Linked DNA regions of Homo sapiens: region 1 is linked to region 2. Evidence: promoter capture Hi-C in 16 types of primary human blood cells and fetal thymus (Javierre and others, 2016). All regions are on one chromosome and are shown on one strand. Each heading gives the region's core, a stretch centred on a gene start or on the middle of the fragment in contact. The rest is flanking DNA. Distances are from core to core; before and after follow the strand shown. Region 1 has its middle 15 kb from the start of CCDC175. Region 2 holds the start of RTN1 (reticulon 1).

Region 1 (4,872 bases), core at 104-2,603, 280 kb after region 2:
TTCAAGATGATGGAAATAATGTGAACAGATGAGAAGAGGACCAAGAGCAGAGCCCCTGGAAAATCCAGAGTGAGTGAGGTGATTCTGAAAGCTGTGAACAGTAGAAAATTCTTACAGCCCATATATGGATGAGTGAAAGCAGTAAGAGCAAATGAAGAAGCTGCAGTATTCTAACGGATAAAGCATGATAGTTTCTATGTCCTCTGCTCTTTCCCCACCCATGTTAGTTTCCTAGGGTTACTCTACAAAAGTATCAAAATCTGGGGTTTTTTTTTTTTTTAAACTCTCAGGCTGGAGTGAAGTGGCACAATCTCAGTTCACTGCAACCTCCACCTCCTGGATTCAAGTGATTCTCCTGCCTCAGCCTCCCAAGCAGCTGGGATTACAGGCGCGTGCCACCACACCCAGCTAATTTTTATATTTTTAGTAGAGATAGGGTTTCATCATGTTGGTCAGGCTGGTCTCAAACGCCTGACCTCAAGTGATCCACCATCTCAGCCTCCTCCCAAAGTGCTAGGATTACCGGGTGTGAGCCATCAGGCCCAGCCTCAAAATCTGGGTTTCCTAAAACAACATAAATTTATTCTGTCACTGTTCTGGAGGTTAGAAGTCCAAAATCAAGGTGTTGGCAGGGCCCTGCTCTCTTTTTCGGCTCTAAGGGAGAACACTTCCTTGCCTCTTCTAATGTCTGCATTTGTCAGCCATCCTTGGTGCTCCCGGCTTGCAGATGGGATACTCCAGTCACTGGGTGCCGCTTCCCTGTGTCATATTGTCTTCCCTCTGTGTCCAAATTTCCCCTTTGAATAAGGACACCAGTCGTAGTGGAATAGGGCCCACCCTAAGGACCTCATTTTAACTTGATTATCTCTATAAAGACCCTGTTTCCAGTAAGGTCACATTTCTGAGGTACAGGGGTTTGGGGCTTCAACATATCTGGTTTAAGGGTGGTGCACAGTTCCACCTGACACTACCTCAGGGCTCATATGGTCCCTTACCCTATTATAAAGACTTCCTCCTGGTGTAGATCCCAAACCTATCTCTGCATTTTGTTTCTCTCTCTAGGGAATCACTGCTGAGAAGTAGTCCCACAGCTTTCTACCTCACCCAAATGCACGTGGGGTGTGGTTGATTGCTGGGCCTTGCTTCACAGCTGTGAGGTTCCAGCAATCACCACATTGTCCTTGAATAGGGCTGCTCTGAGCATCAGAAGGTTAGCACTCTCTTCTGTGTGCAGAGAAGCACGTAGGGGAGACAGAGGAGCCACCACTGGAGCTCATACCAAATGCGTTCGTAGTTGGAGGGGGACTAAGTCCCCTCTGCTGATCCAGGCAGAAGGGCCACCTGCCTTCAGACGCTGACCGGCTTCCCTAGTGCTTGATGTTGGCACCCTCCTCAAGCTCCTTAATCAGATTTTTATTGTATAATTTTATTTTTGTGGTTTATTTTATGATTTTAAATTTTCCTTAATTCAATACATTTAATATTAAATTCTATGTTACAAAATCAGTCTGGCTGGCCACATTTTCTTTGATGAGTACATTGAAATGAATTAATTTGCATTCTAGACCATTATTGTCTTTGAAAGCAATTCTGCTAGAATCAGCTGTCTCTGGTTTCTTGTGGCAGACTGCCACAATTGCTACTTGAGACTATCACTATGACAGTTACTACTGTTACTACTTGAGACCATCATTACGAGACTGAATGAAGGGGGATGAACGTAGAAATAATAACAAAAAAACAAAAGAAACTGTTTTAAAGGAAGGTGCCAGGGGAAGAAGAAGAGGGCTCCCTGCTTCTAGTGAGCAAGGGCAGCAGCCCTGAGCTTATACAGCCCTTCGTATTTATTGGGTAGGAAGAGCAGGGAGGAGGAGCTAACGATTGGTCAGCTGCTTGATTGATGACAGGTGCATATTATTGCTAACAGGCTTTGGATTTGCCTAATCATAAGAAACACTTGTGCCTGGGTCATGTCTGCCCTCAGCATTCCTTCTGGGTGGCAGATGCAGTTTGTGAGTTTGCCAACATTCTGCATTTATGAGAACAGTTTGCTGTTTACTCATACAGCCTCCAGTGGTATACTGAGTTGATCACAACCCTCACACTTTCGGCCTGCAACAGTTTCTCCCTAAAATGATAAAATGGTCCTGAAGAATTAACACTTCATCTTGGCCTGCTTTCTCTAAACATACAACTGCTCTGGATTTTGCTTTGTATGTTTATGTCTTTATAAAACAAGAGAAGTCATCACTAAATTATGACAGGAGTCAAATTCTTAAGTGACTAATGGCAGCCTATGTCAAAATAATACTCAAAAATTAAACAGTTCATATGAAGGGTAACTTTTTTTCAACCTTTATTTCTAGCCATCTCTAACAGAAATAAGGTAGCCAAATATAATGGACGAGACATTAACCTTTTTTAAAAAAATATTCAAACATTTTAAGTAACTAGCATTTTGTAACAAAACAATCACATTGAATTATATCTTCCCCAAAGTGATTTTTTCATGATGCATTTGACATGTCAGAATCAAGATATTTAAGACTGCTTTCTTAAATGTATTATTAAAATTAAATTTAACTTGTCTTTTAATAAAATATGGTTTTAGCATCTCCCAGCCATTTTTCTAGTACTTAATAAGCTCAATGGAGGAAATGCTTATGTTTGGCTTATGAATCAAGGTGAAGGTAAAATGTACTTTGTCAAAATTCAAGTAGTGAATAGATAATTCTCTTTTTTGTCTTTGTTCCCTTGACTTATAAATCCAGGGCCAGTCAATAAAAAGGGTGTGTGTGTCATGGAGACAGAGAGAAATGAACAGGGAAGAACATACGAAATGGGGTACACAGATTTGCCTCCAGCTTTCTGGAGCAGTGCTTCATCTTTTCAGCAGAACATTCTGGAGGAATACCTGGCCAGTCCTCACCCACAGTGCCTCTCCAAAGCTCTACACTTCCCTAAGACATGTTCCTGGAATGCTTTTACATCCCTGTGGTTCAAGAGGCACATGCAACCACGTGGAAGCCCACTGCGCTTCAAGCTCCCACTTCTCCCCTATCAGGGAAGCTTCCCACTGGGAGTAGAGTGTGAATGTATACCCCTTCAGTGGAGATGGTTCAGAAGCCAGCTTTGCAAGCAAAGAATTTCTTTAATCACATATTTCATCTTAGAAGTTAATGTGAACTTGTCTGTCATTGCATAAGACCTTTGCATTTACCTTAATTTAAAAATTCTTCCCCATACTTCTGCATTAAGTTGACTCAAGGAGAATATACCATGTTTTTCTTTTTACACCAAGTAACCCTAGTTTGAGATACGTGGTCTTCAGTGCTCAAGATGCCACGAAGGCAGTTTTGGCTGGGAGATGAAATAGATTTTGACCCTTGAAAGGGGGCTGCATCATGACAGCAGACTTGGGAAGACCATGCTGCATCTTAGCCAATCTTGGCTTTCTTCCTCTCAGAAACTCTGTGAGTGTCTGTCCTCCAGAAAGGCAGGTGAGGCCCTTACTTCCAATTAGCTAGCAACAATAAACGAAGGATTTTATTATCAAATCTTTATAACATTATCAGGGATATTCCCAAAGGTGTACAGACAATGTTTTTTACAATAGCAAATATTGAAAACAATCCTAACATGCCAAGTATCAAGCAATTGAATAAGTAAATTATAGACCTTCTAATGAAAGACCATATAGCCACTTAAATCATCTTGGGGAATGATATTCTGGCATGGAAAATTGTTCACAATATAGCACCGAGTGAAGAAGGTAAGCTACAAAAATAATATGAAATGCACAGGGAAACATTAATCTGTAAAATGAAATCAACATAGAAAATATGAGGGCATACAACAAATATTGAATGTAATTATCTTTCCTCAGGGAAGACTTTGAAAGATCATCCTTTCTCTTTGTGTGTGTGCTTTTTAAGGTTTTAGATTGTTTACATTTTATCTGTGGTGTCTTTTTCTCATTTTTTAAAAATTGAAATATTGTTCCAAACCCCATACCTATCAAAACCAAAGCTATGAAAATGAGTGAAAAATCACCCCCCAGTAAATATTATTCTCTCATTTGGGCCCATTTTTGTTCAAATCAAAATTTAGATTTTTCTTACTTGCATCTCTGGTTCATACCTGCACCCATGCCTTTCTCTTTGCTGCTAATAGGTAAACTAACTGGTGGGTGTCAAAGGAGAATGGAATTTATATGTTTCAAAGCAAAGTTTATTCTCTTAACATTGTTGATTTGCTTTATATAACTAATAATTGTTCTAATTTCTTTCTGCCTTATTTATTTATTTATTTATTTATTTATTTATTTTGAGACAGAGTCTCACTCTGTCCCCCAGGCTGGAGTACAGTGGCACAATCTTGTGCCACTTGTGGAGTACAGTGGCTCACTGTAACCTCTGCCTCCCAGGTTCAAGCAATTGTCTGCCTTAGCCTCCTGAGTAGCTGGGATTACAGGCACCCGCCACCACACCTGGCTAATTTTTTGTATTTTTAGTAGAGATGTGGTTTCACCATCTTGGCCAGGCTGGTCTTGAACTCCTGACCTCATGATCCACCCGCCTTGGCCTCCCAAAGTGCTGGCAGGTGTGAGCCACCGCACCCAGCTGCCATTGTTGTTTTTAAATTAAGTTTTTTATTTTTTTCAATAACAGAAGTAATATATATTAATTACAGAATATTTAAATGATGCAGATTCTCCTATTCAAAGAAAACCACCATTGGCATTTTGGGATAAAGCCTTTTTTTCCCTAGACATTTAAAAATAATTGAATTCTTATTATCTATATAATTTTTGAATTCTGCCTTTAAATTTAAAATAACAAATATATTTCATATACATTTTTCTATGGTATC
Region 2 (4,874 bases), core at 1,698-4,197:
ACAATGGGGCACCTACAGTCAACAATAATTTATTTTATATTTCAAAACAACAAAAAGATTATAATCGGATTGTTTGTAACACAAAGAAAGGATAAAAGCTTGAGGTGATGGATACCTTATTTACCATGATATGATTATTATTCATTGTATGCCTGTATTAAAATATCTCATATACCCCATAAATATATACACCTACTATGTACCCACCCACAAAAATTTTAAAAAAAATCTCCAGGTTACAGTTGAGGAACCTGGGTTGTAGAGATGTTAGGTAACTTTAATATTGAGGCTGGAAAGAATTTCATCTTGGTTAAAGCTTGTTACTTGTGGCGCTCTTCCTGCATGTCCCCACACCGTGTTTCCCCATGATATATGGTTTGGACTAAGTTAAGAAGCTAGTGCTAAATAAATGCTCCTCATTTCTTCTTTTCAAATGATGAACAAAACTTCTTTTCCAAAAAACAAAAGCTGAAAACAAAACGTGACAGTTCTTTTGTCTCAACTCTTCTTGCTAAGAACCTTTTAAAAGTGACAATCCTATTTTCTCTGTGTCTGAAAAGCATTTTAGAGTAATTCGTAACTTAGAGCAACTATGTAAGCCCCAGAATCCCATTGCCGACTGTGTGTTTTGCCCATAAATCTTCAAATTAGTCAAGCTTTGTCAGTTCAGAGCGGTGCAAAATAAATAATATTAATAAACATGAATCATTTCAAGTCATAGCATAAACCTGAAAATTTCTTCCCCCAAATAGATAATTTTTATACATCCAAAGGTGGAGTCTAATAAGGAAAGTTAGTAATGAAAATTGCTAACACTGAAATCTTGTGCTCATCTCTTTTCAGCAGTGTAAAATAGAATACTTTATCAAAATGGAACTGTCAATAATGTTCAATTTCCTTTAACAACTACACTCTAAATAGATTTAACTGGCTATTTCCTTCACACATTCTCAATGAGAGTATTGATTAGTATGAAAGAAATTGACAAATAATTAGAATCATATCCCCAAACTTCCTATCTATTAATCATAAGGAAACACAGAGGCTTGCTTAGGTCTCCCAGTTTTTTAATGATGACTTTCATTCATGTTTCTCAGAGAAACAAAAGAATATACTTCATATTATTTTGTATGTAACTCCTTTGCATAGCAATTCTCAAATATTAGTATTCATCAATAACCACTTTAAGGTTATATCATTAGAATTGTCTATGTTCTTGTCTTGTTATCAGTAATAAAACCATGAGAAATTCCCATCTAGTATTTCTGATGCTTTAGGGAATACTAAGTAATAGATTTGAAAAAACTTACAAGTGCCCTCTAATTACAAGACAGGATTAAGCTCCATGGAAATACAGCAGTGGAATAAGCTTTTCAACTTAACGGTTTTTTAAATACACTCTTGTTTTCCCATGGAAAGATGTTTAAAAATCATTATGATTCATGATAACCAATTATTTTGTTGTTTTTGGATGAGATTATTTTTATAGATTTATTGAGTTATAACTGACAACACATTAAATTGTTCATATTTACAGTAAACAATAAGTTTTGACATATGTTTGCACCTGTGAAGCTATAACCACAATCTAGATAGTGAATATTTCCATCATGAGACATAATTTTGAGTATGTCAAAAATGTAAAATTTTGGTGACCATCAGATTTCCAGGGATATCTGGCTTCAGGAGGCCATATTTATTGTTTAGTGAATGATTTTTCTCTAATTTATTGTCATCTTTTGAACATTAGTGCACTAGCAGAACAAAAGATTAGGCAGACTCTGGGCTTTTTCATTTTAGCATTATTGAGGAGCACCTGAATGGTCCTGAAGTTGGCCTTTGAATATACCAATGGACAGGTATGAAATCCTCAAGATGCGCATGGTGGCCAAGAGTCCCACAGTCTCACAGTGTGTGCGGTACCGTCTGCGCCCACCTTTCCTAGAGAAGAAACAGCAGAAAAACCTATTCCTTCACCCTGTGTGTTGTGGTGAATCTTAGTTTTTAAAGGCACATTATTTTATTATATAAACAACTTGGGAACCAATAAAACACAAGACATTTGAAAAGATGGGTCTTCGTATGGGCACAACATATGATAAGGCAAGTCACTTTCCTCCTCTGAGTTTGGGTTTATTTGCTGACTATCTTCCATTTTATCACAGTGAACTGTAAAGAAAAAGATGCAAGCTTCATGGAATGTCCAAATTCTGAAATACAACGGACTGCACAGACAGCTTATGATTAGGATGGCCTTGGCTCAGTGTTTCTGAAAGCAAATGTACAGCTTTTGTCCTTGCCTATTGACACCCTGTTTGCCCTCAGGGCTGGTCAGGGTGAGATCTGTTAAGCTTTTTTTGGAGGCTGTCCTGATAACTCATTTCTTTACTCCACTATTTTCAGGCCCATTCTGGAAACGCAGGATTTAACCGCGGGGTTGCAGCTTCCCTGGTCTCCATCTGCCATCAGAACCCATCTCCACCCCTTCCCCGTTCAGACCTGTGTCCCCTCCACAACTCATACTGGTCACTCTCAGAACTGTGGCCCTGAGTTCTCTAGCTTTCCCTCTTTGCCTCGGGACCCAGGACACCAGTCGGGGCTTAACTTTCTCAGTTGGGAAGGCGACGCTGCTGGTGGCTGCTGCTACTTGCTGGTTCTTCCTTTTTTTTCCTCCCCAAACGAGAGGAAGATTCGAGTGGATTTGGCACATCCCCTAACCGGGGCCTGCCATTTGCAGGTTGGGGGCTGACGTGCCCAGGAGGACCCGGACCAAGCAGGCCATTTTCACCTGCGTAATAACAGGATTGGGAATAGCGAAGCAGCGGCGGCAGCAGCGAGTGGAGTAGGAGGAGGAGCGCAGGCAGCGGCCGCGGCGGGGCCGGAGGAAGAGGAGGGGGGAGAAGGAGGAGCTGAAGCGGGAAGAGCGGCAGGCAGCGGCTCGGCGGAGTTGCAGCAGAGGCGGCGGCGACGCTGAGACACCGCAGCTTCCCTGAGCGCCGAGTCCCTCCGGGGACAGCAGCAGGGAGCGCCCGCGCAGCCACCGAGCCTCTGCCCAGCCAAGCCGCCGTCGCCGCGCCGGGGGACCGCCAGCCATGGCCGCGCCGGGGGATCCGCAGGACGAGCTGCTGCCGCTGGCCGGCCCCGGGTCCCAGTGGCTCAGGCACCGGGGGGAGGGGGAGAACGAAGCGGTGACGCCGAAAGGGGCCACGCCGGCGCCGCAGGCTGGGGAGCCCAGCCCGGGGTTGGGCGCCAGGGCCCGGGAAGCGGCGTCGCGGGAAGCCGGCTCGGGCCCCGCCCGGCAGTCGCCCGTTGCCATGGAAACTGCATCCACAGGTAAGGCGGGCGCCGCTGCCCCTCAAATGGCGTCGGGGACCAGGGCCCCCCAGTCAGTCCCCTTCTGCGCGGCTCTCCTGGGCACCTGCCTCGCGCTTTCTGCCTTGAGCGCCGACCCCACCCCCGCGTCGCCACGGGCGACTGGGAATATTCGCGGGCTGGTAGAAAACAACAATTTTATTTTTCCCAAAGGCTCAGAAAAAGTCAAGATGCTTTTGATCCTTTTATTTCATTATCATGATTATTTCCGCTTTAAAAATTGTTCTCATAGGCAAACAGCAGCATTCTGGCTGCTGGCGAGTCTGGGTACAAGTTTCTCCCTCCTGCCAGGAGGCTCCGAGCTGTAGGGCCCGTTTGACAGGTTGTGGGGATTTTGGGGGGCGTGTTTGCGCGCAGTGTGCGCGCCGGCTACAGGAGATGCTGACAACCGAGCGGCGGGCAGGCCCGCGGCCCCTGGACCCGGCTCTGTCCAGGGCAGAGATGTGGCTGTAACTGCCCCTTACCCTTGCCCTCCACGAATCGCCACCACACCTTACTCCCCCCACATCCCTCCGCCTTTTCTCCCGCAGAAAACAAATCCCAGGGAGTTTGTCCCTAATTCGGGAGGCACAGCTTTGCAAGAGGGTTGGGTGCTGTGGCTGCCCCCGCCCAAAACCTGTATTTCGCCGCTGCCCGGATGGCCCCACCTTGCAGGGAGCATTGAAACTTCAAGTCCTAAGTGCGGCGGGCCTGGCTGTGGGTTGGAGGGCTTGGGTGGTGGTGAGTGGACGTGGTACAGTTTACCAGCAGTCTAAGCGCCCCCCCCCCCCCACCCCGGAAATTGCCCTGGGTTTGGCCATTCTTCGCCTGACGCCCTATTCAAAGTCTGAGCGCGCCAGTGTCCAGCGGGAGCCCAGGCCCCTGGCGCATCCTGGTCAAAGGATCCAGGAAGCGCGCTTTGAGGCTGCCGGCCTGGTTAACGCTGTTTCCAGGGAGAGGAAAGGGGATGCTGTGTGGTGCTCTTTCCTGAGAAAGCTTTGCTATGGTGGAGTGGGAGTTGTGTAGTTTTGGCAATGTAGAGCTAGAAGGCCTGGGGTGGGGGGTGCTCCCAGAGGAGGGGAAGGGGAGTGGGACTGGTGTGTGTGCTCTTGGTGGTTGATTTAAAGAAACCCCTTTTCGTAAGCTTCTCTTAAGGGTTATGTGGAATGTCTAAGGTAATCGTAATTAACTGCCCTGGTACAGAAGATCTGAGCTGGGGAAAAGAGGTTTGGAGAATGCGTTGAATAAAAATTGTCAATATCCTGAAAGGAAGAGAAAAAGTGGAGACCCTATATAAGAAAAAAGAAAAAGAAAGAAAGAAAAGTACTCAAAAGCCCCAACGCCAAACGCCAAAGGTTATATATTAATTATTATATCCCTAGGAGTGGGGGAGGATTTAAATCTAAGAATGGCTGCTCAGTCTCTCTTTCAACTTCTGCATCCAAGTGAAAACAAAACTCTTTATAATTGCAAAAGAAGATGGCAAATGATAATAGACAAAGGAAGGTAGTTTTTGTCTTTAC

What was found. Contacts are between HindIII fragments. The CHiCAGO score rates a contact against its expected background, and 5 or more counts as called.
Region 1: a fragment that was not itself captured here is called in contact with the fragment with the promoter of RTN1 in region 2 in 1 of 17 cell types (M2 macrophages); the score reaches 5.6 in M2 macrophages.

What each region holds. Positions count from the first base shown.
Region 1 is chr14:59,588,921-59,593,792 of GRCh38, reverse strand. No RefSeq gene overlaps it. Among named protein-coding and RNA genes, the nearest start is that of CCDC175, 15 kb to the right of the region's middle. The HindIII fragment of the contact is 3,436 bases long and covers 1-3,071 here.
Region 2 is chr14:59,868,849-59,873,722 of GRCh38, reverse strand. RTN1 (reticulon 1) reads left to right here and starts at 2,947. Exons shown (of 9, transcript NM_021136.3): 1 at 2,947-3,333. The coding sequence starts at 3,093. RefSeq lists a silencer at 2,939-3,038. The HindIII fragment of the contact is 1,996 bases long and covers 2,354-4,349 here.